Regions from separate parts of the Homo sapiens genome. Here regions 1, 2, 4, 5, 6 and 7 are each linked to region 3. Evidence: promoter capture Hi-C in 16 types of primary human blood cells and fetal thymus (Javierre and others, 2016). All regions are on one chromosome and are shown on one strand. The core of a region is centred on a gene start or on the middle of the fragment in contact, and the rest is flanking DNA. Distances in the headings are between cores, read along the strand shown. Region 1 has its middle 300 kb from the start of RBMS3-AS3. Region 2 has its middle 310 kb from the start of LINC00693. Region 3 holds the start of RBMS3 (RNA binding motif single stranded interacting protein 3). Region 4 has its middle 270 kb from the start of RBMS3-AS3. Region 5 overlaps RBMS3 (RNA binding motif single stranded interacting protein 3). Region 6 overlaps RBMS3 (RNA binding motif single stranded interacting protein 3). Region 7 has its middle 340 kb from the start of LINC00693.

The links. Contacts are between HindIII fragments. The CHiCAGO score rates a contact against its expected background, and 5 or more counts as called.
Region 1: a fragment that was not itself captured here is called in contact with the fragment with the promoter of RBMS3 in region 3 in 1 of 17 cell types (neutrophils); the score reaches 5.1 in neutrophils.
Region 2: a fragment that was not itself captured here is called in contact with the fragment with the promoter of RBMS3 in region 3 in 1 of 17 cell types (neutrophils); the score reaches 6.2 in neutrophils.
Region 4: a contact is called between a fragment that was not itself captured here and the fragment with the promoter of RBMS3 in region 3, in 1 of 17 cell types (neutrophils). The highest score is 6.2, in neutrophils.
Region 5: a fragment that was not itself captured here is called in contact with the fragment with the promoter of RBMS3 in region 3 in 1 of 17 cell types (endothelial precursors); the score reaches 7.9 in endothelial precursors.
Region 6: a contact is called between a fragment that was not itself captured here and the fragment with the promoter of RBMS3 in region 3, in 1 of 17 cell types (endothelial precursors). The highest score is 5.1, in endothelial precursors.
Region 7: a fragment that was not itself captured here is called in contact with the fragment with the promoter of RBMS3 in region 3 in 1 of 17 cell types (endothelial precursors); the score reaches 7.0 in endothelial precursors.

The regions. Positions count from the first base shown.
Region 1 is chr3:28,979,731-28,983,535 of GRCh38, forward strand. No RefSeq gene overlaps it. Among named protein-coding and RNA genes, the nearest start is that of RBMS3-AS3, 300 kb to the right of the region's middle. The HindIII fragment of the contact is 3,099 bases long and covers 513-3,611 here.
Region 2 is chr3:28,887,996-28,891,560 of GRCh38, forward strand. No RefSeq gene overlaps it. Among named protein-coding and RNA genes, the nearest start is that of LINC00693, 310 kb to the left of the region's middle. The HindIII fragment of the contact is 2,970 bases long and covers 251-3,220 here.
Region 3 is chr3:29,279,768-29,283,618 of GRCh38, forward strand. RBMS3 (RNA binding motif single stranded interacting protein 3) reads left to right here and starts at 1,304. Exons shown (of 15, transcript NM_001003793.3): 1 at 1,304-1,989. The coding sequence starts at 1,915. RBMS3-AS3 (RBMS3 antisense RNA 3) reads right to left here and starts at 1,172. Exons shown (of 3, transcript NR_109804.1): 1 at 964-1,172. RefSeq lists an enhancer at 159-208. The HindIII fragment of the contact is 8,241 bases long and covers 1-3,851 here.
Region 4 is chr3:29,010,781-29,014,351 of GRCh38, forward strand. No RefSeq gene overlaps it. Among named protein-coding and RNA genes, the nearest start is that of RBMS3-AS3, 270 kb to the right of the region's middle. The HindIII fragment of the contact is 1,665 bases long and covers 1,472-3,136 here.
Region 5 is chr3:29,772,973-29,776,449 of GRCh38, forward strand. The region is part of intron 6 of RBMS3 (RNA binding motif single stranded interacting protein 3); the gene reads left to right. Among named protein-coding and RNA genes, the nearest start is that of RBMS3-AS2, 130 kb to the left of the region's middle. The HindIII fragment of the contact is 2,637 bases long and covers 292-2,928 here.
Region 6 is chr3:29,535,852-29,539,515 of GRCh38, forward strand. All of the region lies in intron 3 of RBMS3 (RNA binding motif single stranded interacting protein 3), which reads left to right. Among named protein-coding and RNA genes, the nearest start is that of RBMS3-AS2, 110 kb to the right of the region's middle. The HindIII fragment of the contact is 2,379 bases long and covers 412-2,790 here.
Region 7 is chr3:28,911,084-28,914,948 of GRCh38, forward strand. No RefSeq gene overlaps it. Among named protein-coding and RNA genes, the nearest start is that of LINC00693, 340 kb to the left of the region's middle. The HindIII fragment of the contact is 1,519 bases long and covers 997-2,515 here.

The DNA.
Region 1 (3,805 bases), core at 812-3,311, 300 kb before region 3:
ATAGATTTATAAAAGATTTTCATCCACAAGAGTTGAAATACATTCTTTCATTACAAAATGAATGTTCTTAAATAATAAGTTTTAAACCCTAATCCTTGAACATTCTGGTAATTGAAGCCTTTTACAGAACTTTCTTTTTGTTACACCAGAAACAGCAGCAGTAGCACTCTCTTGTACTGGTAGAGTTCGGCTGAAGTATCATGGAAAATTTCAATTCCAAACAGACATAGAGGCTGGCATTTTTATTCTTTTTCCAAAGGAGATTTTGTTAACTGAGAGGAAAGGAAACAAAGTGGGAGAAAATCTTCTTTGTTTAAATTGTTTTTAATTATGAGAAGTTTGGAGAAAATATAACCTGTTTATTTCACATATCACTTTGATACCTACTTTTCTTTTGAACTGAAACTATACTTTAGTAGGTTTCATGAAGTGTAGTGCATGTGTAGCAACAATAATGCACAGTCTGAAACAAATAAGATTTGAAAGTAACCTGGTTAAAAAGCAAGTAGCAAAGCTTGTCATTTTTAATCACTGATTTAGATAAACAGTTTTTAAAATCCAGGACTAAAACTCAAGTATGACTCAGATTTAATCTGTAAAATATGAAGTAAATTAGAGACTTACTGACCATTAAATTTATTTTAAGAGAAAAGATATATACACGCAATGCTTTCAGATCTGAAATAAGTGGTTTAATCAAATCTGTAGTATCACTAAAGATTACTGGGTTGGTTCTGAGTTTTGACTATCCTACTCACTTTTCTATACATGGAATAGCTGAATCTCCCATCTCTATTTCTTTCTCAAACTCTCTGCTGTTCCTATTGCCAATTAGGAATGATTTCAGTTGCAAGTAACAGAACAGGGACTTAAACAAAAGGATATTTAATTATCTCACAAAACATGAGTCCAAAAGTGGGCATTTGGTTGTAAAGTCTCAGTGATGTCACCAAGGACCCAGGCTCTTTCTAACTCTTCATTTAGCTATTCTTAGGGTGTTGGTGTCTTCTTTTCTCAGCTGTAAAATGGCTGTCCCATTTCTGAGCATCATATCTTCACAATAAGACTCCTAGGAGAAAAGATGTGAGTAAGTGGCAGGGATGACTCACTTCACTACCTCTACCTTTATCAGGGAGGTAAGTCTTTTTCAGAAACCACCCTATAGAATTTCATTATATCTCCCTGTCCCCTGACTGGTCATTGCTACTTTTAGCTGCAAGAGAGAAAGAGAAAGCAAGTATTTGGCTTTTTTAAATCCTCATTTATTGGGGACAGGCAAGAAAAAAACAGTTTGGGAATCGTTTATGGGTGCATCACTGAAAATATCTGACACTCTCCTAGGGGGCAATTTAATTGGCCTAATTCAGAGGTTTTCTAGATATCATCTACTTTTGAGTATGTGCTGTATCATTACATCAAACTCTAAAGTGCATATGAATTACTTGGAGATCTTGCTGAAAGATTATATGATACAGTAGAACTAAGGTGGGGCCTGAGAAATTGCATTTATAACAAGCTCTCAGGTGATGCCAATGCCGCTCAACCATATAACCATAGTTTGAGTAGTAAAGTTATATATTCTGTCTGTTCTATCATATTTTAAAAATTTTGGTCTCAGTATAATTATGCCTACCCACATTCTCATCCCTTAATTCCTTCTGTCATTTTCTGTATACAGTTATGTTTTTTTTTATCATTTTTATTTTTTCACTTGTCCTCAGTCACTTTTAATGAGATAATGCATGTGAAGGTGCTTAGCACACATAAATATTAGCTACAAATTCCTTCCATGTTTTCTGTTTTTCTACTCTTTCTTAATTTATGAAAGATTGTTTACTTTCTCCCTTTATATTCCTCTTTTAAAATTCCATTTATGGCTGGATGTGGTGGCTCATGCCTGTAATCCTAGAATTTTGGGAGGCTGAGGCAGGCAAATCACTTGAGGCCAGGAGTTTGAGACCAGCCTGGCCAACATGGCGAAACCCCATCTCTACTAAAAATACAAAACTTAGCCAGATGTGGTGGTGTTCCTCTAGTTCCAGCTACCAGAGAGGCTAAGGCACAAGAATTACCTGAGCTGTGGGAACCAGAGGTTGCAGCGAGCCAAGATCATGCCACTGCGCTCTGCCCTGGGCAACAGAGTGAGACTCCATCTCAAAATAAATAAAATAAAATTCCATTTGTGAGGGAAAACTTAACTATCTAAATTAACGAATGTAAATTTAGTTGCAGTGATAGTCTCGTGTCAAAGAAAAGACAAATCTCATGTAAAAACAAATAGTAAGAGAGAATAATTTCTTGGCCATCTCTAACACTGATGGAAAGGCTGAGCATATGTTTAATGAATTGTCACAGAATTCCCTGTTCAGATGGACACTGCTTTCTCAAATTAAACTTGTTATTCCTTAATTACAGCAGTCACAGGAAATAAAGCACTATCTCTCAGGCAATATTATTGTTTTCCTGTTTTGTTTAATTATAAGCGTAGAATAGAATTACTTACAACTATGCCTCTTTGCAAGATTTCAGTTACATTGAAGGTTAAACAGACTTTTATGAATCAACGAGGCATCATTTATACTCATGATTTCATTGGAAAATACATTGTGACTCTAGTCAGCCAGCTTACATGTATACATTTAAGTGTGTTACCTTATTCCTCGAAGACAGCTTCTAGCCTGCAAGCAGTGATGTCCAATAGAGCTTCCTGCAATTATGGCAATATGCTATCCGCACTGTCCCATAGGGCAGCCACTGGCCACATGTGACACATAGCTAGTCCAAATAAAAAAATGGATTTTTAGATTTTTTCTTAGTTACTGCACATTTAAATTTAGATGTTTGTGACTGGTGACTGTCATATCAGACAGACAGCTCTAGCAGCACTGAAAGGTTGTGGGTTTTGTTTGTTTTGACCATTGTTACTGATTGGTTCTGAAGGTTAACACCTCCTTCTTGTATACCACTTATTATCTGAGAGTCCACTTAGCTTTATAGAAACAAAGTTGTGAAATATAAATGGGGCTAACCTCACTAATTTTAAATTTATATATAGTAAAAAATGCATATAAATATTTTGGCTACTGGAGGATACAGCTTTGATAGAAATTCTTGTGACAGGATAAAGCAAAGAAATCGGAGCTAGTAATAATATTTGAACAATAATTCTCTTTTCTGGGCTGAAGAATTCATTGAACTTTATAGTTTTATGTCCATCTGAGTGTAAATTATTCCATTTCCATTAACATGTCATCATCTAATTAGTGTCCATAACATAAATTATCAACATGACTTTTTATTACCATCATTAATTCATTCATTTATTATGCATACTACACCAACTTTCAAAAGGAACAGGAGCTGATTCATTCATGTCATCACTTGGCTTTGCTGGAGTCAGTTTCAGTTCCTTTTGAAAGTTGGTATAGTATTTGTCAGGATGTTTGTAACACACCTTGAATATGACTTCTTACAGAGTAAAAAATGCTAAGCTGTAAACCTCGTCGTATTCATATTTTAATATTATACCTGTCCTCATCTTATTTCTCTTAGTCTTAGTTTCCATTTAATGAGTTTTTCTTCAAGTAATTACTTTTTTTAATCTCTTAGAAAGCTTAAAAAGCTATGTTAAATTCTAGTAAATATATTTATTTACTTTAAGGTAGGGTAAAAATCCAGCATTAAAAGTAAATAAATACATTGAGATAAATACTTTTTGGAGTTTATTTGATGGAATCGAGTATATATTTATATGTATAATATACATATTTATATGTTTATATGTATATATTTGTAACCCTTTGGA
Region 2 (3,565 bases), core at 486-2,985, 390 kb before region 3:
CAGCACTTCGTCTCTTTAATGAAGCAATAGTTCAAGGTAGTACAATTTGAGTTTGTGTGACTACTTTTCCTACTAGACTGAATTCTTTGATATTTGAGACTGAGCCTGGTTATACGATTTGTTCTGAAGCAAAGTATGTTTCTTAATGTGATTGGTAAATAAAGAAAATGATGTCAGAATAATAGGAAGCTGTGTTGATTCATATGTGAGTTTGCCCATCATGCTAATGTTTCGAAATTACCAGTATGTAAGCTTTCTTAAAATTAAAGAGGAAAATTTAGCAGTATATAACAATCTTAAGAAAGTGAAAAATCTTGCTGACATGCCTTCCTTTAGTGAAAGAAATGGTGGTTGATTTAGTGTCGTTAAGAACTGCACATTTTTCACTATGCCACATTTTTAGAAGAGACTGCAAATGCCAATGCAGATGTTGCAAAAGCATTTTCTCCTGTGATTTTTAAGAAATGATGAATGTAAAAGCATACCATTGTATTGTAGTTTTAATTTTGATGAAACTGGCCTCTATTAGAAGCAAACATCTTTAAGGACCTACATCTGAGAAAAAGCACTACCTCCAATATATAGAGCTTGCAAAAGATAATAGGTTCCAATCATGGTAGAGATTTAATATTCCCGGTGTTTTTTTTTTAAGTTCTGGGATGCACATGCAGAATGTGCAGGTTTGTTACATAGGTATACATGTGCCACGGTGGTTTGCTGCACCCATGAACCAATCAACTACATTAGGTATTTCTTGTAATGCTATCCCTCCCCTAGCCCCCAACCCACTGACAGGCCCTGGTGTGTGATGTTCCCCTCCCTGTGCCCATATGTTCTAATTGTTCAACTCCCACTTATGAATGAGAACATGTGGTATTTGGTTTTCTGTTCCTGTGTTAGTTTGCTGAGAATGATGGTTTCCAGCTTAATCCATGCCCTTGCAAAGAACCTGAACTCATTCTTTTTTTGTGGCTGCATAGTATCCCGTGGTGTATATGTGCCACATTTTCTTTATCCAGTCTATCATTGATGGGCATTTGAGTTGGTTCCAAGTCTTTGCAATTGTGAATAGTGCTGCAGTAAACATACATGTGCATGTGTCTTTATAGTAGAATGATTTATAACCTTTTTGGGTATATGCCCAGTAATGGGATTGCTGGGTCAAATGGTATTTCTGGTTCTAGATCCTTGAGGAATTGCCATACTGTCTTCCACAATGGTTGAACCACAATGGTCCACCAACAGTGTAAATGCATTCCTATTTCTCCACATCCCCTCCAGCATCTGTTGTTTCCTGACTTTTTAATGATCTCCATTCTAACTGGTGTGAGATGATATCTCATTGTGGTTTTGATTTGCATTTCTCTAATCAGTGATGATGAGCTTTTTTTCATATGTTTGTTGGCCACATAAATGTCATCTTTTGAGAAGTGTCTGTTCATATCCTTTGCCCACTTTTTGATGGGGTTGTTTTTTTCTTGCAAATTTGTTTAAGTTCCTTGTAGATTATGGATATTAGCCCTTTGTCAGATGGATAGATTGCAAAAATTTTCTTTCATTCTACAGGTTGCCCGTTCACTCTGATGATAGTTTCTGTTGCTGTGCAGAAGCTCTTTAACTAGATCCCGTTTGTCAATTTTGGCTTTTGTTGCCATTGCTTTTGGTGTTTTAGTCATGAAATCTTTGCCCGTGCCTATGTTATAAATGATGTTGCCTAGGTTTCTTCTAGGGTTTTTATGGTTTTAGGTCTTAACGTTTAAGTCTTTAATCCATCTTGAGTTAATTTTTGTATAAGGTGTAAGGAAGGGATCCAGTTTCAGTTTTCTGTATGTGGCTAGCCAGTTTTCCCAACACCAATTATTAAATAGGGAATCTTTTCCCCATTGCTTTTTTTGTCAGGTTTGTCAAAGATCAGATGGTTGTAGATGTGTGGTGTTATTTCTGAGGCCTCTGTTCTGTTCCACTGGTCTATATATCTGTTTTGGTACCAGTACCATGCTGTGTTGGTTAATTTAGCCTTGTGGTGTGGTTTGAAGTCAGGTAGCGTGATGCCTCCAGCTTTGTTCTTTTTGCTTAGGATTGCCTTGGCTATGCGGGCTCTGTTTTGGTTCCATTTGAAATTTAAAGTAGTTTTTTCTAATTCTGTGAAGAAAGTCAGTGGTAGCTTGATGGGGATAGCATTGAATCTATAAATTACATTGGACAGTATGGCCATTTTCATGATATTGATTCTTCCTATCCAGGAGCATGGAATGTTTTTCCATTTGTTTTTGTCCTCTCTTATTTCCTTGAGCAGTGGTTTGTAGTTCTCCTTGAAGAGGTCCTTCCCATCCCTTGTAAGTTGTATTCCTAGGTGTTTTATTCTCTTCGTAGCAATTGTTAATGGGAGTTCACTCATGATTTGGCTGTTTGTCTATTATTGGTATATAAGAATGCTTGTGATTTTTGCACACTGATTTTGTATCCTGAGACTTTGCTGGAGTAGCTTACCAGCTTAAGGAGATTTTTGGCTGAGACGATGGGGTTTTCCAAATATACAATCAGGTCATCTGCAAACAGAGATAATTTCACTTCCTCTCTTCCTATTTGAGTACCCTTTATTTCTTTCTCTTGACTGATTGCCCTTACTGCCAGTGTTTTTTAAATTAAAATTGTTATTTGTGTATTAAAGTTTTAGTTCAAAGTTTCATAGGTTTTGATTGGCTTATTCCAAAGCAGGTTTTCCCCAAAAAACCTGTTATTTTTCCCATGTAGGTTACAACATTTTTCAAAGTATATTTGATATAATAGCAGAAATGCATGTATCTGCAATTTCTGGCAAGATTAAAGTTCTCAAAAATATTTACTAAATGGGAACAAATTATAACTATTATTATTGTATTCCTTGAACATTTTTGTCTGAGCATCTCTTAGTCATAGCTGAACTCAACTTTTCACTGGTTTCTGAAATATTATCCACCTTGACGGTCCCAATTTCCTTTTGAAATAAACCATTTCTGTTTCTTATTATGTTTTATTCTCTTCCCAGTCAAAACTCTTAATTCCCTGTGAGTCTGTGTTTCCCATTAGACTGAGTCATGTACCTGGTAAGCACTCCACAAATGCAAGTGGTTGAATGAAGGATTCAATGTTGAATGAATGTATCACTTTCCAACCTAGAAATAGAGATAGAAAAATGGCAAGATTTATCCATCAACAACCTTCTATGGTCCTGCAGTGAAGCTTCTTCTAATAATGTCTAGAATTTATTTAGCAATAAATATGGGCTAATGTCTTATTATAATCCTTGGATTCACTGTATCAAGGAAATCCTTTTTTTTTTTTTTTTCCTTGAGACAGAGTCTCGCTCTGTTGCCAGGCAGGAGTGCCATGGCACGATCTCAGCTCACTGCAACCTCCACCTCCCGGGTTCAAGTGATTCTCCTGCCTCAGACTCCTGAGTAGCTGGGAATACAGGTGCACACCACCATGCCCAGCTAATTTTTGTATTTTTAGTAGAGACGGGGTTTCATCATGTTGACCAAGACGGTCTCGATCTCTTGACCTCATGATCCACCTGCCTTGG
Region 3 (3,851 bases), core at 54-2,553:
CATCCTTATTTTTATCCAAGGAACACGTATGCACTCACACAGCTTCCAGAAACCAGTTCCCCTCGGTGGAAGCCAGTTGCTTTAGGGGTGGTGCGGCTTGTATGTGGATGGACACCATGTGTGCACTGAGCCCAAATTCTCTGTTCTTCTTGACTAGGAAGCTGGATTTGTACCAGGGACCTTTTATCTAAATAGGAGACTCTGGGCTCAGGAGAACAGAGCCGACTTGACAAAGTAGAAAAGAGCTCAGTATTGGTCTGCCCACGCTTTGGGCATGCGTGAGCACTCGCAGCAAAACACAGCTGGCACATCTAATTTTAGCCTCGCCCGCCTTGAAAAGGGACCCTTTAAGGAAATATATTTTATCTGAAACAATTTGTATTATAATGTAGCAGCTGATAGACATGACAGAATATTATCATTGGTGGGAAAAAACTCTGCCAAGCAATTATGATTTTTGTTCTTTTTTTTTTAGATGATATCAGTAAAGTGATTAAAGCATCAATGCAACAAAATAATCATAAAGAGAGAGACAATGGGAGAAACAGATTTTATCTGTAAAATATCTGACGAACCTAAGGGGTCACTTCCTTTGATTTTTTTTTTTTTTTTTTTTACAAAATGGATGTATTTTAAAAAAGTTATTATTTTTGATATGTTCAGTTGATCAGTCCAATCTGATGACATGTGGCATTAATAGTAGTCCTGGAGTAGACCCTAAAATTTCTTCAATACTTAACATCCACCAAGTTTTCCAGGTAGTAAAAGGTTAGTTTCTCAATCAGCTCTTGGATGCGTCTGGCTCTAGCGTGTTAACAGATTTTGAAAGCATCCGGGACTTACTTTTTTCCCCTTTAACCAGCAAGGTTAGTTCCCCTGCCTTTATTTCTTTTCCTTTCTCCTCCTTCCTTCTTTCGTCCTCTCTTCCCTCTCTTCTGTGTTTTGTTTAGCAGTGTGGCTTACCTTGGAACTTGGCAAAAAGAGGAACAAAAAGCAGCTCTTGTGTGGGGTAGATGGAGGAGGGATAAGAAATAATCCACCGCCCGCATTTGAGTTCTTCAGGTTCAGTTCCAGCGGCAGCAGCGTTGCTGCAAAAATCGCTTGCTATTCGAGATAGCCAGCAGAGGGAATCGGAACTTTGCTTGCAGCAGGGGTTGAAGCAGCCTTTTTTTTTTTTTTTCTTGGAGGAAATACTGCAGCCTTCTGGACTGCGTACGCTGCTCCCTGGAGAGGCTCTCTCGGTTCCACCCACCGGCTGGAAGGAGGGGAAGTGAATGAAAGGACAGGACAAGCCCCGAACACCATGTCACTCTGGGAGGGAGACAGCAGCAACTAAGCTGTACAAGGTTTTTTTTTTTTTTTTTTCTTCCTTTTTTTCTTTTTTTTTTTCTTTTTCCCCTTTCTTTTTCTTTCTTTCTTTCTTTTTCTTTCTTTCTTTCTCTTTCTCTCTCTCTTTTTTCTTTTTCTTTAAGGTGGGGAAAGAGACAACCAAGAGACAGGAAGCTGATCTGCAAGGATTCGGAGTTGTGCTAAAAGGACTTTGATTTTTTTCCCCCTTTACGAACGCTGGCAATTGACATCACTACAGACAGCCTGGTTAGAGAACAAACTGCCTCATCCCAAGTGGACCCCGGCAGCTGGGGGAAGCCAGGCAAGATCTGGGAAGGCTGTGTGTGGGTGTTTTTTCTACAGATCTCACTCCTCGCCCTTTTTTTTTTTCCTTTGGTGTGTGTTTTTTGTTTTGTTTTGTTTTTTAAAAAAATTCTTGCTGTGTTGGAACTAGCGAGTGGTGGAGTCTCTGAAGCCTCATCAGTCACCGGGACTGTCAGGAATAGTGGTTTAAGAGGAAGCTCGGCCTGGGGCACTATACCCTGTCATCCAGTTCCCTGCCTCGGAGATAAAGATTCCAGCTACATGGGCAAACGCCTGGATCAGCCACAAATGTACCCCCAGTACACTTACTACTATCCTCATTATCTCCAAACCAAGGTATGGCTTGACCCACGGTCTGGCGATCAGCGTGGTATCGTTCTGCACTTGGGATGGGAAACAGACAGGCGTGTGAATTATTAGTTAACCCCCACCCCCATCACTTCTTCCTGCTTCTTTGAAATTAGTGACATACCAATGGAGTTAATGAGGCAGAGGAAGACATAAGAAGAAAGCAGCAAACCCGGAATTGTAGCTTTCTCTTTAAGGAGAGATAATAGTTTCACTTGAGTTCAGTTTCTTTGTTGTTATTTGGCAGCATAAATGGTCCTGATATCAGGAACGTCTTTTGCAGATGGGCACGGTTTTTAGAAAGCAGATCACAACAGTGATTACCAGGCACAAGAATATAATTTCAGGGGCTTTTCTGGTGAGCTGTTCTTTGATTGTGGCTCTAAAAGGGTTTTTCCCACTGGATAGGACGTGCAACGGTGGGGGTAACTCAAACTTTTAATCGCAGGGTATAGAATGAAAGAAGGGTGTGAGAAGGTATAGGGCTCCTACCAGAGTCTCTGAGAGTTTATTTTTATTTTTAATTTGCCTTGCCTATTTTATTTTATGTTGAGGATGATCAGCATGCTACAGACTGCTTTACAATAGATGTTCTTTACTTTTAGAAGATCTATTTTTCTGTGTAGCTGCCATGAGGAGGCCTGAGTCTTGAAAAGGAATGAAATGTAACTGATCATAATTGGACTTGAATTGGTTAAATACTTTAGGCTTTATGTGTGTGTGTCAAATGACCATTAGGGGCCCAGAGGCAAGCCCACGTAAGTAAGCAGTGGGCAGTACCTACCCTGAACTTTATCCTGCAGTTAAGACATGAAAGACTCTCAGGTGTGAAATCACTGCTCCGATTTGTCAATTAAATTGGACTTGATTAGGGGGAAAACATGTTAGCGGAGTGACCACCTCGAGTGTACGGGTGATATTATTTTGTATTGCATTAGCATTAGCCAGACTCCACCGTCTCCTTAATAAATAAATATGCCGAGAGTGAACAAGGCGTGCCTGAATGATCTATGCTGTCACCAGGACTCGGTGATGTGATTAGGGTTAGGTAATTCATGCTGTAGTTATCTGTCATTTATTTTGTCTCGTCCAGCAACGCCTATTTGTAAACCAGACTGGGAAGCAGACTTTCAGTATTATACAAAAGATTATTGCTTTGTTTTTTTCTTTTTCAATTGCTTTGTAATCCACCCTGCCCCTCCAAGGTCGACTCACACTGCTATTTGCCTTTGTGAGCATTTAGTTTGTGCTGCTGATGCTTAAATAGACTAGCCCTCCTGCTCGGTGCCTTAAGTTTTAACTCTTTGGGGGTGTTAGGTTGAGAATGCTGCCTGCCATTCCTCAAGGAAATGGCAGAGCAAGGACAAGTTAAAAGGGGAAAATTTACAGTCATTTCTCATGCCTCAACAAAACAAAAACAATAAACTCAAAGGTTGCATGAAAAATATCAGACATTCCATCCCTTTTACTCATTTGGCTACATTTTTCCAAGTGTTTCAAAAATTACACTTTGTTTCGGGTCCTTGTTTTCTACTATGGTATATATTCAGAAAAGAAACTTTAGATTGAAATGAATAACATAATTGTTTTTCTGTTTGAGACTTCTTTTAACCTATTACTAACAGGAAATAGTGAATGTTATGCACATTTTTTCAAAGACACAGGCTGCTGGATGAGCTATACTAGTAGAAAGTGTGTGCGAGAGAGAGAAAGATGGGGGGTAAAGAGAGAGAGTGGAGTAGTGAGGGAAAAGAGAGGAGCCTGAAAAATAGGGAGATTGTAGATATCTGTTTTGGAGTTCTATGTAGTTTAGTGTTGTATAGACAGGCGGCATCTGGATCTTGTTACTC
Region 4 (3,571 bases), core at 1,054-3,553, 270 kb before region 3:
AGTGGGACTATTCGTAGAAAAAACCACCAAATGCTGCAAATCAGAGCTACCCCATCTACTGAACCATATACCGGGACACTTCTGGATAGAGTTTCAAGCATCCTAGCAAGAAAATATGACATTTAACAGCAAAAAATGGCAAAAGAAACTTGGTTTATGAATTATCTATCTTCTACTTTTGTATTATGGTTTTTATATTTAAAGACTAAATATGTCTGGTGTTAGTTCATTCACATTTAATTGGCAATTGTAAGAGGCCAAAAGCAAGAGAGTACCATCTAGGAGTTATAAACTCTTTAGGATTAATGTTTGTCAAAGAACTAAAATGATTCATACTATCTACTCAAAAGTAAAAATATATGTATATTTTTCCTTACTGACTTTATGTGGGGCTTTGTTTAGCTCAGTCCTTTTCAGATGTCATGTCCATACAGATCATCTAGGGATGTTGTTACATACAGATCATCTAGGGATGTTGTTACATTCAGATTCTGTTTCTCTAGGTTTGGAATGGGCCTAAGATTCTGCATTTCTAACAAGCTCCCAGGTGATGCTAGGAACCATATTTTGACTAGCAAAGATTTCGCTATATGTGACAATTAGAGGAAAGCAAATAAACAAAAAGTCAAACAGATGCATTTTTAAAAATCTAGTTTCTAAGAAAGTAATCTCTGGAAAGAAAATTGTATGTTTTAACTTAGCTTTGAGGATCTTTGAATCTGGGCTATTGCACTTTTTCTTTTCTTTTCTTTCTTTTTTTTTTTTTTTGGCAGATGTTTGTTGAGTTCACACAATACAGTAAAAGACTAAATGAGCTGGAAACATTAGCAATCCCAATTATACAACTCACTGACTACCCATAAGCCTGAACAATGAAAAGCATTTTGCGTGCTTTACTCATTTAACTTCATTTAAACCCTCGTTGGCATCTGAGTTGCATTAATGTGATAACACTTGTGTAGCAATTAATAAACTGTGGCAATTGTGAACATTTCTGGAATTTGTCATATTGAATGAGAGCAGGCTCTGGGCATCTAATATTTTGCTCATTTTCTGAGGTTAATCTGGCGTTCTAGAAGATATATATACATTTTTTCCCATTTTCCTTTGTACAAATATTCAAAGTTATGGCTTCGTCGTTTCACCAGACCTTTAGTTTTGGAAGTCATTTGTAATAGATGACTTTCAAGCAGTTTCTTCTTTTTTGCTCTCTTTGTTAGGAAACTCATTGAATCTTCAAGAATGTAATCATATTGTACCCACACAAATGCACATCCAACACTTTCACAAAGGTTACAGAAGCTGTGTGTTCTCCATTGCCCTGAGCCTTGTAAACTCAAGCACATTAAAAGGAAATGGTGAGCGCGTTCTGCATAATACGGTATCCAGTGCTAACAATACTGGATATTGTATCAACTCCACTGCTTCAGAATTGACTGTGTGACTGATAGAAGGTTTGGGAAAGAGAAAAAGCTTCCTTTCCAAATTTGAGGATAGACAGTATATTACCCAGAGGAATAGCAGATGATTTTTCAGCACTGAAATGCAGCATTGTTCTCATAACAACCAAACTGGTGTTTGGAACTTCGATTTAAAATAGCTAACTTACCACCTTCAGGCATTGGAAAATGCTTATTGATTTATTATTTCCTATCCCTGGGATAATAGGAAATGGATTTCTTTGCTTTTACCCACATATATTGCAGTGTTCTGCACAGATTAAGGCTATCCTGTTACCCAGTATTAAGTATAAAAACATTTAACTTTCTGGCTGAGTGTGTGTATAGGTCTACATCATGAATGCAAGAATAATTTTCTTTTAAAGTAACTTGACCTCACAGTGCGCATAGGTTGGTTCTGGTAAGTTCTCAAATCAAGTATCCTTTTATTATAGGAAATAAGAACCTCTGTCCCAGCTCTGTGATCTGTTTAATTATTCATGGTTGCAAGATTCCTGCTTACCATCTTACCATTTCTCATCATAATGTGTTAAAATCACTTTACTGTGTTATTTTTTGAATACTACTCTTGTCAGGAGAAATTCTTGGCCTATTTGTATAATCAGAAAAATTCTGAGCAAGATACATTTTCTAAAGCAATATAAGGAACCCACAAAAAATATTTCTTAAGAAAACATGAGAAAAAAGAAGGTAGAAAGAGGGAAGAAGAAAGGGAGGAAGGAAAGAATGAAGAAAATAAAAATTTAAAAAGGAAAATATATTACATACAACATAAAATGAACCTTGAAAGCTATCAGGTGAAGTTTGTTTTCTCAGGATCTGTTGCTATATTAAACATTGTCACTTTATTGATACTTTCCTAAGAAGTTCAGCTTTATGATTTAGTGAGTAAGCAATTCCATATATCTGCCACCACTGCAAGGTGGATATTAAGTATGCCCAAGTATCAAATACTTCTACTTCAGGTTCAGATTGGTTATGAAAAAAAAAGAGAGGAAGATGGTGGTATAAAGTATGAAGAAAAACAGGAGAATCAATTGATTCTAAAGAAATCTCTAAGGATCATCCAGCTCTAAACCAGATTGCTGTTCATAGAGCTAGGGCATCATTATTCCATGAAATCACTCCAGTATTTCTTATGGTAAATTCCAGGTCAGCAGCTTCTTTTGTAATACCTTTAAGCACCAAGACTCAACATTTCTACATTAATGGAAAAAACAAAATCATTGCTATTAATATAAACATAGATGATAGTGAACGTATTTTGTGTTGGTGTTCAAGAATGTTCCAAAGGGAACTTAAAGTTTGCTAGACAAATCAGAACAATAGATAGGGATTGACTGTTAAGTACAGCTTGAATATTGACTCTTGGGAAGGTATCTAGGTTGACTTGTGTCTTACTTGCCAAGTGGTTCTTCCTGTATCCTGAGCTACAGAATGGCCTACCAAGAAGAATTTGTTGATCAATGTAGATGTGCCACTGGTTATGGCACAGTTTATGAACTCAACATGCAGAGGCCTGATTTTATACCTCAGATGAAAGCCAATACTGAGTCCTTATAGTACATTTTCAATGCTTGTCACTTGACTACCAAGAAAAGTATTTTTTTTAACCTTCTCTGTAATTTTTACTTTTTCATGACTGAGGAAGTGGTGATGGAATTACATTATCCTTAAGCTTAGCAAGAAGATAAGACTTTTCTTCTCAAACCTTTCCATTAAGGCAGATTTCTCTGTTTCCATTATTTTCTGGAGACATTTTTAGACTACATTCTGGTTTCATCTCTCTTACAAGAATGTATTCAAGTCACAATTAGCCCTTTAAAATTTAGAGTTTCTCTTATGATTTCTTTCTGCCTTAGTGGTTAAAAAAAAGTTGATTTTTTACCCCTCATTACCCACATCTTCAAAAGAATGCAAACTAGGGCAAATTCCCTTTGTTTCCTTAGTGAAAAAAAAGTATCAATCTTGAGTTCTCAGTTCTGATTCAGAAAGAATGTTATATTCACTTGAGTCCTTGGCTCTGACCAAAGGAACAGATCATTGCTAGTCCTCAAAACTATTCAGGCGGCCGGGCGCGGTGGCTCACGCCTGTAATCCCAGCACTTTGG
Region 5 (3,477 bases), core at 360-2,859, 490 kb after region 3:
TTAAACTATCTGACACCATAAGTATGCCAGGAAAATAATCCTAATTGCTAATCTAAATTCATGTAAATGTGTATCTCTTGGGTCTCAACCTTAATACTTGCTTTCAATAATTCCTATTCTTGAAAAGTTATTAGGGCCTAGAAAAACAGAATGGAGCTCCTCGAGGTTATAATCAACTTTAAGTTTTAGATGATTATATCTCAAGCATAGACCATGCTCACACCCCTACTCATTGTCCCATGAAACGGGGATTGTCCTAAAGCTCTAAATGCCCTAAATCTTTCATCTGAAAGCTTAGTTTTGAGACACACATTAAAAATTTAGAGGTGGTGAATATGCATACTTATTATATATTTAGAAAGATAGATAATGCTTATGATAAAATAATTTTAAAAATTAAGTGCATTTTCAAAAATGTGTTTCTTAGCCAAAGTTATTACACATTCCATATTATTCCTATAGCAAGATTGGGAGGCTGTACATATGAAAACATAACCATTTTCTATTGAACTGAGTGTGAGACACATTTTGGACCAGAGGTTTATATCAAACAGTTGCACTAGTTGACCCGCTGAGATGCCCTAAAGAAAAAGAACTCAAGAATTTAAGTTGATTTCCAGCTGTTTGTTATTAGAGCAAATGTTAGTGCTCCCGGAGTGTTTGCCCGTGGCCATCAACCAGCACCTGCATCTCTTTCATTAGGTAGACTGCCCTTAGGCTGCAGCAGCCTGTTTTGCCTGTGAGCAGTGAGAGTCAGAAGTACTTGGGAATTTACATCCCCATTCGGGGCCATCCATAAACAGTGATTGACAGCTGTTGGAGTATCAATATCCCAGTTCTTCTGCTTCTGATGAGAATACCCTGTGTATGATGTATACTATCTCTATAGCTTTCCTGAAGGATTCAAACAGTTACAGTTTGTGGGGCTGTCTAACACCACATCCTTGCTTGACTCCTTCACTTCCTGGTCCCAATTCCCAAGTCCCTTACTGGCTTTCCCTGAAAATACTTCCTAAGAATTCATGTTCACAAGCAACCTTGTTTCAAAGTCTGTTTCTGGTGAACCCAAACTAAGGTATTATATTCATACAGACACTAAATTTGTTATTCTATGATCTATTATTTTCATTAATGTTTTGAGTTTTACAGTCTCATCTGTAAAATGTACTCAAGTTAACTGAATCCCTCAGGATAGATTGAGGGAGGTTTCAAAAGTGAATATAAAATTCCTCAAATTCCCTCACTTCACTGGAAATAGACATACTAGACACTCTAAGTAAGGCAGCACTTGTTTATAGGTAGCTGGCTTCTTTATAAAAGGGATACACCATTTAAATGTTGATAAAGTGTGTGTAACAGCAGATAAAACCGTGATCAGGTCTCCTGTGAGTGAGCAATCACCGGCCGATTATCACTGAGCTAATCACAATATGTCTTAATAAAGGTCCATTCAAAAGAATGAAAATTGTATCCATATATAAGACAAAGGGGTTTTAAAATAAAAAAATCTTAGCAAAGTGTACAAAAGCACTGAAGAAAAATATTGAAACTAATATGTTTTTACACATAATCATTTTAAGATGGTATAGTGAGCTTGATACAAAGGGTGTTACAGAGACCGCTGGAGGTTCCTAAGATCCTTTCTGGTGGTCTACAAGGTCAAAAATATTTTTATCATAATACGAATTCATTATTTGCCTTTTTCACTCTGATTCTCTCATGAATGTAAAGTGGAGTTTTCCAGGGGCTACATGATTTGAGATGTGGCAAAAGCTGGAATATGGAAGCAAATGTTAGAATCCAGCTGTCTTTTATTAAGCCAGAAATTACAAAGCCACTCTTCTCTTTTTTATTCTGTTTTTGAAAATAGTGTTTTTAAATAAAAGTGTATGATTTATGTCAATATGTAACAGGACTATTATTATTTTAAAATAAATAAACATCTAAATTTTTTTATTTTATGTTTTAATGGTGTCAATAAATATAACGTGTCTAAACAAGTTTTGGGGGATCTTCAATAATTTTTCAGAGTGTAAAGAGGCCCTGAGACAAAAACAAAAAACAAACATAGAAAACAGCCGATATAGAGTCAAATTCAAGCCCTTCATCTTAGAAAAGATGAAGAAAGATAACCAAGATAAAGGCGAAGTTTAAAATACGCTCTCACTTTTTTTGGTCTTATTTTGAGAACCTACGTATGTTCTAGGAAGCTAGTTTTAATGGAGCAATTAAAAAATAAATTTCAATTAAATGAGTTCTACCAGTTTTTTTTTATTTTTTTATTTTTTATTTATTTTTTTTTTTTGGTAAACAAGCATTCAGGCGCCTAATCTATAGTGAGTGTTTTGTTTTATTTTTTTAAATGCAGAGGCAATGGTTAGTCTTCTGAACATTTGCATTCTCATTTTCATTAGCAAATAGCATATTGTTTGACAGAATATGTGAATGTTGTATTAAGACAATGTATTTAAGCAGCGTGTGTGGCATGCTGCAATTGTGGGAATGGAATTATGTGAATTTGTGAGTAGCATGCGAATGAGTCTGCCCACAATTTAGGGAGAGTTTAAGACTAATATCTAAGAGCCAGAAAGCTAACCACAGATGCCACATGGGAGCTGTGTTATCATCATAAGAACTATTCTGTGTTGCTTCTTTTAGTCGCTGCTAATTTCAGATAATGTTCATCTTACATCTGGACTTCACCAGTGTGAGTGCTATTCACCATGTGGGACATATCTTAAGTACGTACGACCTTCCAGGTTTGCTAGTTGTAGTACATGATAATAATAAAAATGATAATAATATATTTAAACACTAGCATGCAACTAATTGAACACTGTATATTATTAGTGTTCACATAAAATCTTAAAAAAATTTCAGAAATAGTAAAGTCTCCTATTGTAGAGTCACATAATCATGATTTCATTAAGCTTATTGCATCTTTACCTAATTTGAATGATCTCTAAGGAAAGTAATTCTCTAGTCATCTTTTGTAACTAGTTGTAATTTTATCTGAATGAATCCATGTAATAGATAAAATAATTTAAGATAAAATTCTCATATAATTTATTTTTAAAGGACGCAACTCAATATTTGCTTACATCATTTAACAGCCCCTTCATTTCTTGCATCCCAAAGACAAGCATTTTACATCTTTGCTACACCTATATGATGTTAAAGAAAAGAGCGCCATTCGTCCAGCTTATGATATGCTTTCTATGAGATCCTCACGGCCAGGATCCCCTTTGCCCTTTATGAATTTAATTTCTGGAAGAACATATGCTACAGAGAATACCACCTTTGCCTTTGGAATCAGATGGACTTTGGTTTGACTTATGCTGCTGTCTCTTTTTTACGTTTTAACTTGAACAAGTTATTTAGCGTCTTGCCAGGTTCCTCATAGAACCTAATTGTTCCGCACCCATTAACTCGTCATTTAACATTAGGTATATCTCCTAATGCTATCCCTCCAACATG
Region 6 (3,664 bases), core at 351-2,850, 260 kb after region 3:
TAGAGTTATTTCCCATTTACTAGTTAAGTGATTTATTTATGGTCTATTCAGAGTCTATTAATTACATACATTTCAGAATAAGTAGCAAATAGTCATTGTAATAGTTTCCATAGTGTACTAATCTTACTCCTCTTTAAATTTCGTCTGAAGTTTTGAATCTTCACAGAATTAGCTAGACATATATGTTACCCACTACAAATGACGTCTGAATCTCTTAACAAGGATGAATAAAAAGACCTGAAAAGTTAGCATGGTGGGTACTCTCAAACTATTTTGTTTTTTATTTGCATAGCTTTCCTAAGTAAAAAATGTCTGGGAAAGGCAATGCCAAGAATCTCTTGGTAGACAGGCATGCTCCACACATATACAGTAGGAGCCAAACAGTCATTTATGGTAATTTCATTAAATGGAAGCTTGATATGCAAGGGAAAAATTTTTGTATGTGCATGTGACTATTTTTCAATAACCAAGTAACACTAGTATTAATAACATGCTAAATCAGCATGTATTAATTTTTTTTCAGACTGGCCAAAAAAAATTTACTTCCAAGATTACTGAATGAATATTAAGATTGCTTATCTTGACCTTCCTTATCACTGCGTCATGTGCTGCATCAGTTTTGTTATTGTTCTTTGTTCTGTTCTGATGTTTACTGACTTGGAACATATGCTATTATAACTACACCACAATCTCTCTTCTATTTCTCTACCATAACCTTGCAAGGGGTTAGGCAAACTTGGAGACGTGTCAGAAGAAGAGCTTACCAACCTCATATGTTAGCCGTATTGCACAGCAGTACTGCAGAAATGAGCTGCAAATTCCAAGCAACATATTGAGTTTGTGATTTATTTGTTTTCCAGGCAGGCCAATTAATTGTTTTGCTGTGATGCTGCCCTAAATTGTAAATAGAAAGAGCAAGAAAATGAATTGTCACATTCTGTGCCTGTGTCTCTTGCTACTTAGGATGACAAAAGCAGTTTCTGCTCCGACTGCAAGTGATATTGTAAAATATGAGAATTAGGCTGGACCTAAATGTGTTGGTCAGTGTGTTTCAGAGGTGCGTTTTAGAATGGCTTTAAAGACATTGTACTAAGACTTTACTACCAGTAGGTTCTGGAGAGAATGTTATAAGACAGGAAAAAGGAAAATAATTCTTATTTCATGCCTATCATGTGTGCTTTCTTTCTTGAAATGATGGAAAATGATGGCTTCCCCATATTTCCAAACTGATTTTTTCAAATAGATTTGGAATGTTTATTATATTAATAAAAATAAGTGTTTTTAGATTTTTACTAAAGGGGAATGAAAGAGAAGGTAAAAAAGGTAAAACTGACACATGAGGGAAAGTAGTTTGTCAGCTGAATGGACTATTGGCACATTTTCATTAGTTCCAGTGGAATTTGAAATGGTTTGTCAGGACTCTAACTTTGGCCCTAAAGGCACTTGGTGAAATACTGTTTTATTTTACTTGGTAAATAATAAGTATTTTAATGGAAGAACATTTTGGCTTTCACATCTGCTCCCTCGTGGCAACAGCAATTTGAAGTCAGTACATGCTACTGAATGCCATGAACTCTTAAGAAATTACCAAAATACCTTAAACTAAATTTCTTAGGTGAAAGTTGTTTCAAAGAACGATTGAGCCATTGTCACAGGAACCAATGCAGGAGGCTTTATAAAAACACATTTTTGGTCGGGCGCGGTGGCTCACGCCTGTAATCCCAGCACTTTGGCAGGCCGAGGGGGGTGGATCACAAGGTCAGGAGACCGAGACCATCCTGGCTAACATGGTGAAACCCCGTCTCTACTAAAAATACAAAAATTAGCCGGGCGTGGCGGCCTGAGCCTTTAGTCCCAGCTGCTGGGGAGGTTGAGGCAGGAGAATGGCGTGAACCCGGGAGGCGGAGCTTGCAGTGAGCTGTGACCGCGCTACTGCACTCCAGCCTGTGGGAAAGAGCGAGACTCCACCTCAAAAAAAAAAAAAAAAAGAAAGAAAGAAAAAAAATTTGCCCCGATACCATGACTTTGAATCTTTTCCATTTCATCTTCACATTGTGAGTCATGATGAACTACTAATACAATATACTGGCAATATTTAAAGCCTTGTATTTGCTTTTTGCATATATATTTAAGTTTTGCAAAATTTTGGAAACAGGGAGCAAATAATTTTATATCTTGGAAAGTAACCTGGGCCTGTCATATTAACCCACTGCTTATGAATGGCCCTAGGGTAACATGTCATTCACATTCTTGGGCAGCTTGTCACATGTCACAGAAAGCACTATAGACTTACATTGGATTTGACTCAAGAAACATGAATAAAGATAAATGTGGATAGGTAGAAGATAATCAAATACTGGAACATTTATGGTGCTATCAAGCACATAAACACATTTATAAACTGTTTTGGCCTCTGTACAATTTATGCGCCCTGGATTTTCCCACAGAAGTTCTGAAGTAACTTACAAAAAATATACTTTACAATGAATATGAAAAACTCGAACTAGAAATAGTAAACCAAGAGCACTAACAGGAAGAGGAAAGAGATATATACGATTATTGAGTGCGAAGTTTCCTGGCAACCCAAACAAAAAGGATACAAATAAGGAACATCGTTATCCTTATTATAACTGAGGAAGTCCCTTAGCAGATGCCAAAGTTTTTCCTGGCAGAAATGTCTAAAAGATGTTCTTAATTTGTTTAAGCAAGAGTTGCTTAGAAGCAAGTGAGTTTGAATTTGTCTGGTGCTTAAAAACAGTGTTATGGGTAGATTTATGTTTCCAAATTATAAGCTTTGGATTTTCTCAGTATTACTTTTATAAATGCCATCATATTACAAAGAGAGGATAATAAGCATCCAGTGGGTCACTTTGGTAGACTTAGTCCTTGTGGTTAATGAAGGCACATGTTGTCCTGCAGGCAGTATCGTGTCAAGCCAACCTGGATTCATACTGAGCTGTGTGTCCTTTGTCAAGTTCTATGACTTCTGTGACATTCCGTGATTTTTTTATTTCTGTAAAATAAGAATGCTCAATTACATAGTTATTAAGATTACATGATAAAATATATGTAAAAGAGCTAAGGTTATCACAGTACTGTCTTAACCATTAACAGCTAAAGATGAAATAACCCCATTTTTTTGCTTATTTTCCCTTCTTGTCACTAATTTCAACTTATATAATGGAGGAATAACATATACAAAGAATGAATATAATCACAGAAATTATAACTGAAGTCTGGGCTTCTGACTCAGTTCCATTCTGCATACACTATTACAGCTGTTTGGGTCTTACAGGAAATGAGTTATTATGGAGATATAGGCTTCCAAAGCTAAGCATCTACCCTTTTGGAAACAAAATACATTGTCGATGCAAAAAAATAAAGGTAACTATTTATGATGAAATTCAGTTTCAAATTGGATTGCAGCCTTCCTTGTTTTTAAAGGTGAATGGACCAAGCAAAAATAAACTCCTTTGTAGCAATTTAGAATCATCAGGTTTTATTCTGCTTTAATATAGAGCAAACTCTGAGTACTTTATGGTCCTTGAAAAGTTGGTCCTACACAAGTAGCCTCAGCGTCTTGTGCATTTGGTTATTTGGAGGTCAGTCTGTTCCATTTACCAGCCCTTGAAGCCCTTTTACCTCCCTCCAGCTTATTACATCT
Region 7 (3,865 bases), core at 506-3,005, 370 kb before region 3:
TAGAGACAGGGTTTCACCATGTTGGCTAGGCTGGTCTTGAACTTCTGACCTAAGGTGATCCACCTGCCTTGGCCTCCCAAAGTGCTGGGATTACAGGCGTGAACCACTGTGCCTGGCCAACAGGTACATCTTTTTCATAAAAGGTAGGTCCATGTTTTCTCCATCGTTACGAAGTAGGCTGGGAAAGTATGTCTTTGTCAGTTTCTATAAATGGAGCAGGTTCTATTTCCTACTAATATTTATTGTCAATCAATTCTACAAAGGTAGAAAGGATCTTCTGAAATTGGCCAGCCAAAAATACATGTTGCATATAATAAAAGGTCATATGTTCATCTTTGCTGGTTTTCCTGCAACTATTAGTAAATAGATGTTTTATTATTCCATGTTTATGGAAAAATATATGTAAAGCTGCCATTACATTCTATACTAATTGATCAAAAGGAAATCCTCTGTGTTTGTGCTTCCATAGATGTGCATTTGTTCCCTATTTCTTCCTAAGCCAAGGATAAGACACTCACACAAGCTCCTGACTCAAAACATGGCTCTGTACCAAAGAACTAATAAGCACAGGCAGGGTCCTTTTGTTTGTTTTCTTTTTTTCTTCTTCTTCATTTTTTTTTTTGAATAATTGCTTTCCCTATTTCTTTCTTACCAATTCAGCCAACACACTTTATCTCAAGGAAATTACATTTGCTCACATAGGTGTGTGAATAAGCAGAATGACAGGAGTTTGTTTCAGCCGGAATTAGATGGATATTGCAATTACTTGGGGAGAGAACGTTTCCCTAAATTCAGCGACGAATCCTTCTCAGATCAAAACAAGGATTACTTGAAAGATGGCTTTTGTGCCTTAATACATATTGTGTTTTGGGAGCATATAACTACTTCTTACTCTGTGGTAAAATATTTTTTTGGTTTTGGGAAAAACAAATACATCTTCACAATGATAGTGAGAACAGAAAGGCTGAGTTTTCTGGTCAAAGAAAGGGGATTAGAAGCTTTTCTAGTGATGTGATCCAGACTGAAAAGGGAATGTTGTGGATGTTTTTGTGGCTTGAAAGAATATTCAACCAAGAGCCTTCATTTAGGATTATAACTAGAGCCTCCTTTCCTGACCATGTTCTGCCAGGCTCTCAGGTACTGTTTCTTTGGACTTCTCTTGACATCCCATACTTCACTTTGCTCTACAAGCTATCTCAGTTTTTAGTTTGCTTATCTAATGGTTAATAAACTTCTTGAGGCCAAAGAATGTGTACTTTCTGTCTAGAACTCTTAGTTCTTATTGTAGCTCTAGCATCTAGTTAAGTCAGAAGCCAGAACATTGAAGGGATGAATGACTTGAACACCGAGAGCTCAATGATATCATGGAATTAAAGTCAATATTTCTTTTTTATTTATATTTTAGAATCTATACAGCAGTCCTCCCTTATCTGTGGTTTCGCTTTCTGAAGTTTCAGTTTCCCGTAGTCAATCGAAGTCCAAAAAATGTTAAATGGGAAATTCCAGAAATAAACAATTCATAAGTTTTAAATGGCTCACTATTCTGAATAATGCATTGAAATCTTGTGCTGTCACACTCCATCCTGCCTGGGCGTAACTCATCCCTTTGGCCAACATATCTATGCTCTTGTATATGTTACCTCCCTGCTAGTCACTCAGTAACCATCTCTTATCTGATCGACTGTCTCAGTATTGTAGTGCTTGTGGTCAAGTAATTCTTATTTTACTTAATAATGGTCCCAAAGTTCAAGAGTAGAAATTCTGGCATATTGTTATAAAGTACTATTTTATTATTATTGTTAATCTCTTACTGTGGCTAATTTATAAATTATACCTTATCATAGGTTACATATAGGACAAAACATAGTATATACAGGGTTCAATAGCATCTGAGGTTTCAAGAATCCACTGGAAGTCTTGGAAGGTATCTTCCTCAGATAAGTGGGGACTATGGGATGGATGTTGAAAAATGGATTTTGAGGTTTTTTTTCATTACTTGCTTGCTTATATAATTTTTTTCAAGAATTTCTACAGAGTGTATATATATATAATTTTAATAATTAGAAATAAATGCAAAAATAAAAAATGTACTTTTTAAAAATGTAAACAATACCTTTTAAAAAAGAAACATTGAGATTTTTAAAAGCAAAAATTTAAAATTCCTTAAGGATTTCAGTTTTGGAATAAGATTCTCCCCCAACCTCCTCCACCGTCAAATCGTAACATAGTTGTATTCACATGAAAGGAAGGCAGAATGAGCATGCTGGAAATATGGTGTAATACTAACAAACGACATGAGAAAGAGAGAAATCTTTATTTTTATTTTTTGTTTGACATTTTTTTCCCAACTGGAAAGTAGAATAAAGGTTAATAAGAATATATGGAAGGCCAGGAAAGGAAAGGCCACGTTAAGAAGATACCTACGTATGTCAAATGATTTCTAATATCAAGCCCAGATAAATTGCACTCTGGAGAGGAGACAAACTTCAAGAGCAGAGATGACAAAGTAAGCATAAGCTTCTAGAAAAGCTTATACTAGGCCATTTACAAAAAGAGAGGGAGAGAGAAATGGATTACGAATGTGACAGATTTGTAAATTTGACAACAATTTCTGGGCAAAATAAGTCAGGAAACACATGGTTTTGAGTTCACAGAAAAAGGGCAACCACTAAATTTCAGAATGTATTTTAAAAGGATGGGAATGAAAGTTACTCTTGATTCCTTTTTTGGGGTAGGATTCTAGACTTCTGGATTAGGTGATTTAAAAAGCAAAAGCAAAGTCTTTTCAAATTTGAGCAAGTCATGGAACAGTTTTTACTGATTTGTTGCTGACAAATTGGAGAGCTGTGAATAAAGAATGTAGGTCATGAGATTTTACCCAGAAAGTGGCATATGAATGCCCAGCCTCACAGTCCTGTATTTGTCCCTGTCCCTTTTAAAATGCTGCACAACAACTTGGATGTGGGCTGAAAAGTTACACAAATGCTTTGAAATGGAGGATCACATAATAAATATGGAATTCAAGACAAATTTAAACTGGTTGGAACAAACAGCTAAAACCAAGACGACTTTAACATAGACAAATTCAAATTCAATTGTTTAGGTTAAAAAAAACAACAGAAATAGGAAGACTACTCTGAACCCATCTTAATATAAATATGAGCAAATTTTTATACAAAGCAAATCTCTTTACAAGCCAACAGAGTGATGTAGCGATTAAAACATTCTGATATCCTTTTGGATTGCATTAATAGTGTGTTAATGTCAGGTCCACAGGAGCCGATGTTCCTACCCTATATTGTTTTTCTCAGTTCACACCAGAGTGTGGTATTGAGCAGATGTTCACTGATTCAAGAAAAGGGTGACTGGAGAATTTACATACAACTAACAGAAATCTCTGATGGTACTGGGCATATTTGTCTTAAGGGAGAAAGATTTTAGGGACACCCTGATAATAATCTTTCTATATTTAAAAGGCTTTTATGTAGAAAAGAGAATAATTTTGTATTGTTCCAACAGGTAATAGAAATTGTTACAAGAATGGGGAATTCAATTCAGCATGAAGAACTTTTTAACTATTAGAACTGTGTGAAATTAGAGTAGAAAGCCTTAGGAGGCAATGAACACCTGTGATTTTGAATATTCAGGTGTGTAACTGACAATGCTCTAGGTAGGTATTTTTACATGGTGGTAATATTGAGTTGAATTAGGCAATCTAATGACTTCTAAGCCTAAGGTGTTATGAGCTTATAGGTTCTGTTTGTCTTTACTTTTTAACTCCAAAGGCAAACTTTTAATATCTTAAAATCACCCTTCTTATATTATAAGATGTCTGGGTGAAGATAGTAAACAAAACTATTTAGGG